Linked DNA regions of Homo sapiens: region 2 is linked to region 1. The links are contacts of gene promoters, found by promoter capture Hi-C in blood cells and fetal thymus (Javierre and others, 2016). All regions are on one chromosome and are shown on one strand. The core of a region is centred on a gene start or on the middle of the fragment in contact, and the rest is flanking DNA. Distances in the headings are between cores, read along the strand shown.

What was found. The method cuts DNA at HindIII sites, captures the fragments that hold promoters and counts their contacts. A CHiCAGO score of 5 or more calls a contact.
Region 2: a fragment that was not itself captured here is called in contact with the fragment with the promoter of LINC00525 in region 1 in 3 of 17 cell types (total B cells, naive B cells and M0 macrophages); the score reaches 10.0 in total B cells.

Annotation. Positions count from the first base shown.
Region 1 is chr7:47,758,624-47,763,688 of GRCh38, forward strand. LINC00525 (long intergenic non-protein coding RNA 525) reads left to right here and starts at 2,853. Exons shown (of 3, transcript NR_038407.1): 1 at 2,853-2,890; 2 at 4,750-4,955. The HindIII fragment of the contact is 4,383 bases long and covers 1,850-5,065 here.
Region 2 is chr7:47,528,111-47,533,175 of GRCh38, forward strand. TNS3 (tensin 3) reads right to left here. Exons shown (of 31, transcript NM_022748.12): 2 at 926-1,037. Among named protein-coding and RNA genes, the nearest start is that of TNS3, 51 kb to the right of the region's middle. The HindIII fragment of the contact is 5,206 bases long and covers 1-4,521 here.

The DNA.
Region 1 (5,065 bases), core at 1,603-4,102:
AAATAGAAAGAGAGACAGAACAGAGAGAGACAGGCATAGACAGAAGTGTCTCCTGAGGTTGGGCCTCTGAGTCCTGCTCTCTGGGGAGTACTCTAGAAAAATGGCAAGATCTCAGGGACCTTGGTGTGTAGATGACTGATCGCCAAAGCAGGAGCTCTGGTCTTAGGCCAGATACACTGAAGCAGCCAAAGAGTCAAGTTTCCCTCTGGGCCGTGCCCTGGGGGTGCAGGGGTATATGAAAAGCTGCAGCTGGGTGCAGTGTTCCTCTAGGGCTCAGGAGAAGTGACAGACAGAGAGCCCAGGAAGCACCCACAGCCTGGGCCTGGCGCGTCCATTGGTGTGACCAAGACCTACATACAGAAAGGTGAAGGTGCACAATGAACTCAGACTTTATCTGAATAGGGGTAAGATCCATTTCAAAATTGGAAGTGGGGCTGATTTGAAAGAATCTATTTTATGAGGATAAACTGATGATGAGATAAATTCTATAGATAGGGTTTTCCTTGACTTCTAAGAGAATAGATACACAGAAGGTAATTATTGAGTTAGAGTTGTCTTTTGTTTCTAAGAAAATGATAAGACAATTTATATTTTTCACAGCCTTGCTTTCTTGCTCCACCAGGGGTCACAGCTGATCTTACACATTTCGGGGTGTGGGCACAACTTCACCACTCTTCCAGGGACCAATGTAAAGCCACCCTGGCACCACCCTTTGCTTACTGAAGATTCCCCCACCAAATCCACGTGCTACCTGTGCCTCATCCATCACTGGTTAATTACTCTGATTAAAATAAAGCAGTGATTTGATGTTTCCAAGGAGCTTCATTAGAATGAGAAAAAATTATATTTACCAAGGAAAGGAGGAAATGGTTGAATAAAAAATATGACAAGTAATTTAATTTTAGGTCAATGAATGCTCCACTGTGATTCAATTCTGACACATGAAACAAATAATGAGATGATCAAGCCCTCTTCTTCCTTGCAGAAACTCGCTAATCCATATGAATGGTCTGTTGTTCACGAGCATCTGGTTCCCTTAACAACCTGTGGCCTGTTTACTCCATGGGGAGAATCTGGTCCTCAGAGCAGCTTTAGGGTCCATGCACCTTACTGGACATCCATAATGCACCACAGAGTGTGGTGCAGCAATATGCCATGTGAGGATTTTTTAATCCTTGAAAAGTTGGGTGAAGAGGATAAGATTTTTCGTATAAGATAATACAGGCTTCAAAAAGTTGGAAAAAGAGCACATTTAGAAAGTCCCAGAGCTGGGATTTGAACCCCTGTGCTTCTGATTCTAAATTGCTTCCCACCACGCTCATGGTGACCTCTAGAAGGTGTTAGTGAGGTGGAGATGTACCCGGTAATCCTGCCAGTGCATCTGTGCACTGATTCTCTATTGCTGGCTGTCCTTCTTGGCATCTTATTCAACAATAGCTACTGTAAGGGGGGAAATAGTCTTATATTTTGTGAAAGAACTCAAATGGCCAATTCATATATGGCCAGTTTACTTAAGAATGAATTACCGACCGGGCACAGTGGCTCATGCCTGTAATCCCAGCACTTTGGGAGGCTGAAGCGGGTGGATCCCCTGAGGTCAGGAGTTTGAGACCAGCCTGGCCAACATGGCAAAACCTCATCTCTACTAAAAATACAAAAATTAGCCGGGTGTGGTGGCTGGCACCTAAAATCCCAGCTACTTGGGAGGCTGAGGCAGAAGAATTGCTTGAACCCAGGGGGCGGAGGTTGCAGTGAGCCCAGATTGTGCCACTGCACTCCAGGCTGGGCAACGGAGCAAAAACAAAAAACAAAAAAGAATGAATTACCAGGCTCTAAAAACCTATCAGTAAGCTTTTTTTTTTTTTTTTTAAAGACGGAACTTGATGCTAAGGAAATTGCAACAACACAATGTCCTAATACACTGTTGACAAGATTAAAAAATTTTTTATTTTTAATTTTTGTGGGTACACAGTAGGGGTATATATTTATGGGGTACGTGGGATGTTTTAATACAGGCATGCAATGTGAAATAGGCACATCATGAAGAATGGGGTATCCATACCCTCAAGCATTTATTCTTTGTGGTATAAACAATCCAATTATACTTTTAATTATTTTAAAATGTACACTTAAATTATTATTGACTATAGTCTCCCTGTCGTGCTATCAAATAGTAGGTATTATTCATTCTTCTATTTTTTTTTTTGGTACCCATGAACCATTCCCACCTTATCTCCCCAGTCCTCTACTATCCTTTTCAGCCTCTGGTAATCATCCTTCCTATTCTCTATGTCCATGATTTCAATGGTTTCGATTTTTAGATCCCACAAATAAGTGAGAACATGTGATGTTTGTCTTTCTGTGCCTGGCTTATTTCACTTAACATAATGTCCTCCAGTTTCGTTCCATCCATGTTGTTGCAAATGACAGGATCTCATTCTTTTTATGGCTGAATAGTACTCCATTGTGTATATGTACCACATTTTCTTTATCTGTTCATCTGTTGATGGACTGTAAATTTGCTTCTAAGTCTTAGCTATTGTGAACAGTGCTGCAACAAACATGGGAGTGCAGATATCTCTTCAATATACTGATTTCCTTCCTTTTGGGTATAGACCCAGCACTGGGATTGCTGGATCATATGCTAGTTCTATTTTTAGTTTTTTGAGGAACCTCCCAACTGTTCTCCATAGTGGTTGTACTAATTTACATTCCCACTAACAATATACTAGTGTTCCCTTTTCTCCACATCCTCACCAGCATTTGTTATTGCCTGTCTTTTGGATAAAAGCCATTTTAACTGGGGTGAGATATCTCATTGTAGTTTTGATTTGCATTTCTCTGATGATCAGTGACGATGACCACCTTTTCATATGCCTGTTTGCCATTTGTAAGTCTTCTTTTGAGAAATATCTATTCATTTCTGATTTTTTATTTGGATTACTAGATTTTGATTTCTGATTGGATTACTAGATGTTTTCCTGTTGAGTTGTTTGAGCTCCTTATATATTCTGGTTATTAATTCCTTGTCAGATGGGTAGTTTGCAAATATTTTCTCCCATTCTGTGGGTTGTTTCTTCACTTTAAGAAGATCATTAATTGCCTTAATCATTCTAAAAAGTGATTTGGCAAATAAGGGTTGAATTGTGTCCCCCAAAATGTCTATGTCCAAGTCCTAACCCCTAGTACCTCAGAATGCAACTGCATTTGGAAACAGGGTTTTTGAAAATGTGATCAAATTAAAATGAGGTTATACTAGAGTAGAGTGGGCATGTAATCCAATATGACTCATCCAATATGACCGGTGTCCTTATAAAGAAGAGGAGATTTGGCTGGGCATGGTGGCTCATGCCTGTAATCCCAGCACTTTGGGAGGCCGAGGTGGGTGGATCACCTGAGGTCAGGAGTTCAAGACCAGTCTGGCCAACATGGAGAAACCCTATCTCTACTAAAAATACAAGAAAAAAAAATAGCTGGGCATGGTGGCAGGCACCTGTAATCCCAGCTACTTGGGAGGCTAAGGCAGCAGAATCGCTTGAACCCGGGAGGCAGAGGTTGCAGTGAGCCGAGATTGCGCCATTGCACTCCAGGCTGGGCAACAAGAGTGAAACTCCATCTCAAAAAAAAAATTAATAAATACATAAAAAATAATAAAAAGGGGAAATTTGGACCCAGACATGCCTGGAGGGAAGATGATGGGAAGAGACACAGAGAGAAGATGGTTGTCCTCAAGCCAAGGAGAGAGGCCTGCAACAGATTCTCCTTCAGCCTTTAGAAGGAACAACACTGCCAACACCTTGATCTTAGACTTCTGTCCTCCAGAAATTGTGAGACAATGCATTTTTGTTGTTTAAGGCAACCAATTTGTGGAACTTTGTTCTGGCAGCCCTAGCAAATGAATACAACAAAATATATACTGTATTGAGAACCTTAATATTGGCAATACCATTTGCACAGGAACTCCTTGCCTTTGGTTGCCACCTAAGAAATCATGCATATGGACATGGAATTACACATAAAGTATATTTAGCTAGTTTTTCTTCAACATGCTATTGCAGGAGGACAATTCAAAAATCTTTCCAACTCCCACCTGATTTCTGAAGGTTCTCTGGGAGCCTGCGCATCAGCCATCAAAACACACTTGTCACATTTTTCTTTCCTTTTGGCCTCCTTTAGTGAAGTCAGCTGCCTGAGGCTGGGCGGAGGTGCTCAGCACTCCCTCTGGTTTGTGGGGGGCTGGGGTGGGTCACACTTATTCTACTGGATATCACTGTTCCTGGGCCCTGCCACCACTCTCAGCCCTGGTGCTGTGGATTCTGTTCATGAGAGGGGCTGAAGTCAAGCCTCCCTCTCAGGCCCAGATCTGAGTCTACAGGTCAGCCGGGGCTGGGGCCTCACGGTAGCAGGTGGTGACAGAGGACATGTCATTGTCGCAGTCACTGAGGACACTGGTTCTCATAGCCCAGCCTCTGTGCCTGGACCTCAGCTATAGGCCTGGCCCCATTGTGCTCTCCCTGATGAGAATCTCCAGGCCTTGAGCTACCTGACTCTTCCCAGTTGGCCAGACACATCCCAGTGAATGATCATCATCCTGCTCTCATCTCATAGCCAGCTGATCAGTCTGTTCACCCTCCACCTACTCAAGTACAGAGTGACACACCCCAAGCAACAATCGCATGAGAAATTCTACCACCTGGGGAGGGCAGAACTGGGACAGACTTCTTTCATTTTCTGATCTGCTTTTGCCAGATGTCCTCTGTAGCAAGAGGCAGGACAAACAGTGAGGACTGCACCAACACTCACCGGGTGACCCCTTTGCTTTGGAAACTTACTCAGGGTGAAAGGAATTCCGATTTTAAACAGCATCTCTTTGTGTGGCCTGTTTGAGGCACCACACAGAGCTTGCTGGAGCAGCTCTGTTGACCGCTGACCCTTGGCCTGCTAACTGAAACAAGGTGAGTATTTCTAAGGCTGTCGTGGCCACGGGAGGACCGGAGAATAAATGTGGACCTATTTACATTCTCTTTTCCCTGAAGGTGATAAATGGCTTCCCCCATCCAAACCA
Region 2 (5,065 bases), core at 669-3,168, 230 kb before region 1:
CCGAATCAGAGGAGGGGCACCCCAGTCTTCTCACCCACACTCAGGCCTTTGAACTGTAAAAGAATCCCAAGAGCCCCTTAGAGGCCCCTGGTCACATCCTCAACCCATTAAGGTTTGACTGCGTGCATCGTTCCATCACAGGCACCCTACTCTAAAGTGGCCATCAGGGACCATCTGCTGGGGGTCTGCAGGGAAGGAGGCACTGAGGGGGAGGTCCTAACAGCACAGAAGCCCACAGGCTGAGACTCTGCACATTTTCTAGAGGAAATCCCCAACCCCGCAGATGAAATGATGCCAAAGAGCAGCCCCCGCACTCTCCAAGGACCTGGTCCTCCTAGTGACTCCCTCTGTGTGGTGTACCCCACTGGTCCGCCAAGCAGCCCCTGCCCCCCACCACTCCCACATTCATTACAGTCACACCTCTCTTACTAGATTTATTAATGTGCAGTCACAAAAGAATTGGCAAGTTCCATTCATTACTTGACGTCTAAATATCTGGTACCCAAGCTGGTGGCTTAGTTTAGTGACAGGATCTGAAAGGGGCCATACCAAAATGAACCCGAAATCTAAAGATAGAAACATTTCATTCGCAAACTTGAGTAACAGATCTGAAAGTCAAACTAAACAACCTGAGTTACTGACACTTCAGAGCAGACCTGAGAATAAATGATTAATTTACAAATTGCTGCCTCCTCTCCCATCGGGAAACTCTGCTCTTTCTGTAAAAATGTCCTCATGAGCACTTATCTATGTAAATACGGTTGGCCCCTGCTAAGTAAGGGGGTAGGGGGTTGGGGGACATATAAACTAAGAAGGGGAATTCCATGATTTAACTTTCGGAAACTCCTGAAAAAAAGTTTTCGTTTTGTTTCTTGTTTGTTTTGCTCTGGATTAATCAGTGAGAGAATCATAAACACAGACTTACCTCGGCATGAAATACCTTGACCGTCAATAATTTGTTTGCAAACTCCACACACTTTGGATTTTTTAAAGGCCTTGTTCTTAAAAGCGTGCAGACTCGAGGTTAATTCTTCCGGCTGAAAAAGTAAAGGAAGAAATTGTCAACGTTTCATCTCATAGTTTGTTTCTTTTTCCTTTTCATTTAAGGGAAATAATAAATCTAGTGGAATTGTAAAGAGCAAAAACAGGAATTTTACCAAGCAAACAGAGAACAAGAAACCATCTTGGTGATGCTAAAATTCCCAAGACGACCCACGGATACCATGTTAGCATTCCCAATTCCAGAGTCCTAGACGGACGTTCACTCTCACCCAACTCATCAATCACCACATGGGGTGCCTAGAAACATTACATCAACCAACATCATTATGTGAAAATGCACTCCCTTCCAGACTTCAGCCGTAGAGCCACCTACTTCTGTGACAAAGTAATCCACATACACTTCTAGACTCTCAACCCTTTTTCTTCTGGAAAAAGTAATTAGCTAAACAGCATAATTATGTTATGAGGAAGTCAACTGGCTTTCCTGGTTCAAAGGTGTTCCAGAATCACCATTAAGCTCTTGAGCCTCTCTGAGCTCTCCTGCAGAAGAAGAGACAGTCCAGCCTGTGATACACATGTGGTTCTTCCTCAAACACAATTACAAGCATTAGCACTTGGAAAAACTAACCACTCAGCTACCTATTCATGTTTGTAGAGCCAAGGCTCTCAGCTATATGATAACCTTATAAGAATTCAATTTGCTTTTAGAGTCAAGCACTAATCATGTCTATTTGCTGATATGTGACCGTGTATTCTATCAGTACTTAATATCCATATGGATTCAGTGAGGCCATTACTCACCCACTGGAATAATTAAATTTATTTGAAAAGATGAAATGGTATTTAGAATGTGGAATAAATGGTACAACTACTTTAGAAAATGGTTTGACAATTTCTTATAAACTTAAACATACACCTAACCTATGACTCAGCAATTCCATTCTTATTTACACTAAAGAGAAATAAAAGCCTATGTCCACAAGAGAAAGAAAGGTCATAACAGCTTTATATAACCCAAATGTCCATCATAATAACTATTCTATATGCTAGAAAGTTAAGTAGAGATCTGAAAAACATAAAAAGATCCAAATCAAACATTCATTGAGGAAAATGTAAGAATACAGTGCAAGATACACTGGATGCGATTACTGGCAGATTAGATCCTGCAGAAGCACAGGTGAATGAACTTGAAGACATCACAGTACGAACCTCCCAACGCAAAGCACACAGAGATGAGACAACCTAAATAAACAAATAAACAAGCATCAGTAAGCTGTGGGAGAACTTTAACCAACATAACATATGTGTAATGGAGACTGACGGAGAAGGGCAGGGAAGGGGGGATATTTGAAAAAATAATGGCTGAAACTTTTTCAAACCAGGAGGAAAACTATAAACCCACAGATCCAAGAAACTCAAGAAATTTCTTGGCCAGGCTCGGTGGCTCACACCTGTAATCCGAGCACTTTGGGAGGCAGAGGCGGGTGGATCACCTGAGGTCAGGAGTTCCAGACCAGCCTGGCCAACACGGTGAAACCCCGTGTCTACTAAAAATACAAAAAATTAGCCGGGCATGGTGGTGGTGCCTGTAATCCCAGCTACTCGGGAGGCTAAGGCAGGAAATCGCTTGAACCCAGGAGGTGGAGGTTGCAGTGAGCCGAGATCGCGCCATTGCACTCCAGCCTGGGCAACAAGAGTGAAACTCCATCTCAAAAAAAAAAAAAAAATATATATATATATATATATTTCTAGCACAAGAAATGTGACAGGAACTACCCCAAGGCATACAATAATCAAATTGCTTAAACCCAGTAACAAAGAGAAAGATCTTAAAAACAACCACGGGGCCAAAAGACACATTACATGCAGGGAACCAACCAATAGGATAACAGGTTTCTCATTGTTTTAAAAAATATAAGTGAGAAGACAGCAGTATAATAGGAAATACTGAAAGATGGACACAAAGAAGGGAACAGACACCAGGGCCTACTTGAGGGTGGAGGGTGGAAGGAGGGTGAAGATTGAAAAACTACCTATCGAGTACTACGCTTATTACCTGGAGGAGGAAATAATCTGTACACCAAACCCCCACAACACACAATTTACCTATATAATAAACCTGCACATGTACCCTGAATCTAAAAGTTAAAAAAATAAACAAAATAGAATAAAACAAAATACTGAAAGAAAACTTGTCAATCTAGAATCCTGTACCCAATAAAAATAGCTCTTCAAAATAAAAGTGAACCAAAAACTTCTTAAAATATGCAAAAAAAGATATACAATTAAAGCCCAAAAAAAATCATCACCAGCTGACACCTATGACATATTAAAGACAGTGCTTGGGCAAAAAGGACATGGCAGATGGAATTATGGCTTTACACCAACAGATGAAGAGCACCAGAAATGCTAATTACACAGGTAAATTTATGAGTTTTTCTTATTATTTAAAGCTCACCAAAAGATAATTAACTGTTTAAACAATAGTGTAATGTGACATGTGACATATGTAAAAGTAAATTTTCTGAAAAAATAGCACAAAGTTCAGGAAAGAAGAAAAGGAAATATACTATTGATGACAGCGGTTGCTACCATCACGCTGGCTGCAGCAGGGAGGTGAGGCTGGGGCTGCACTCTCCATGGAGCCGGTGGGAGCTCCACCCCTTCTGAGTTGGGGTGGGAACTCCCTGGGTGCCACTGCAGCTGCCCAAACTGCAGCTGTAGATCCAAGCCTCCCTGCGCTCTTGAGTGGGGCCAGGAGCAGGCAGGATCTGCCCCCCGGGGTGCAGCTGCAGCCACCATCCACGGCTGCAGACCTGGGCCTCCCACTCCACCACACAGGCGGGAGCTGGGGAAAAGCAGGAGCTCCCTGAGTGCAGGCAGCTGCAGCCACCCTCCCAGGCACAGCACCCAGGCATCTCTGCGGCCTGCACCCTCGGGCGCATGGGAAGCCCCCCCCCGCCCACCATCCCTGCTGGCTCAGGAGTGTCTATTCTGGCTGCCTGGCCTGTCTCCTCTCCCGGCCCCCCACCTCTCATCTCAGAGCGGGATTGGGGACAAGTACCAGGGCCTTGAATGGCAGCGGTAGGCAAAGTCCTGGGCAGAAGGGGGTGGGTCCTCAGTAAGGCCCCACCTTCAGGCCAGGGAGGGCCTGTAGGCTGGGGACGGGCTGCCAGTCCCACAGACTGGAGTGGGGACTCATGGTGCCTCTTCCAGCCAGCCCATGGCCGCCCATGGACCAATCAGCAGGCACTTCCTCCCCTCCAAGGGCTTTTCCATGTTCAGCCAGAGCAAGAGAGAGGACAGAGAGAATGGAGAGACCACAAGAGACCAGCTGCACAGAGGAGCTACCCTCTCTGCCGAGAGCTTCAGAGACCTGCAGAGATGTTGGGACTTCCAGCTGCAGAGAGGAACTACCCTCTCCAGGGCCTCCTCTCTGCTGAGAGCAGCAGAGGTCGGGATGACCTGCCTACAGAGAGGACACTGTGGGTCTCCTCTGAGCTGTTTAACACTTAATAAAGCTTATCTTCATCTTCTTCACCCTTCCCCGTCTGCCTATCTCATTCTTCCTGGACACAGGACAAGAACTCAGGCAAAGGTGCCACTGGCCACAGAGGTTTCCAGCCAGAAATTGGACACCCCAAAGATCCCATAAGACTATTATAAGGCTCTCATAGTATTCATGAAGTGGATATAATATCACTTGAAGGTAGCCTGTGATGTTACAGAGGTATAGTATAAACCCTAGAGCAACCACTAAAATCATGAATTATAGGTAATAAGCAAACAAGAGAGATAAAATGAAATAATAAAAATTATTCAATTAATCTAAATGGCAAAAGGAAGTAAAACAAAGGCAGAACAAACAATAGGTAGGAGAAATAGAAAACAAGTAGCAGTATGACAGATTCAAACCTTGCCATATTAATAATCATATTTATGTAAATAGTCTAAGTATCTCAATTATAAGTCAACAAAAGTTGTCAGATTTTATATATATATATATATATATTTTTTTTTTTTTTTTTTTTTTTTTTTGAGACAGAGTCTCGCTCTGTCGCCC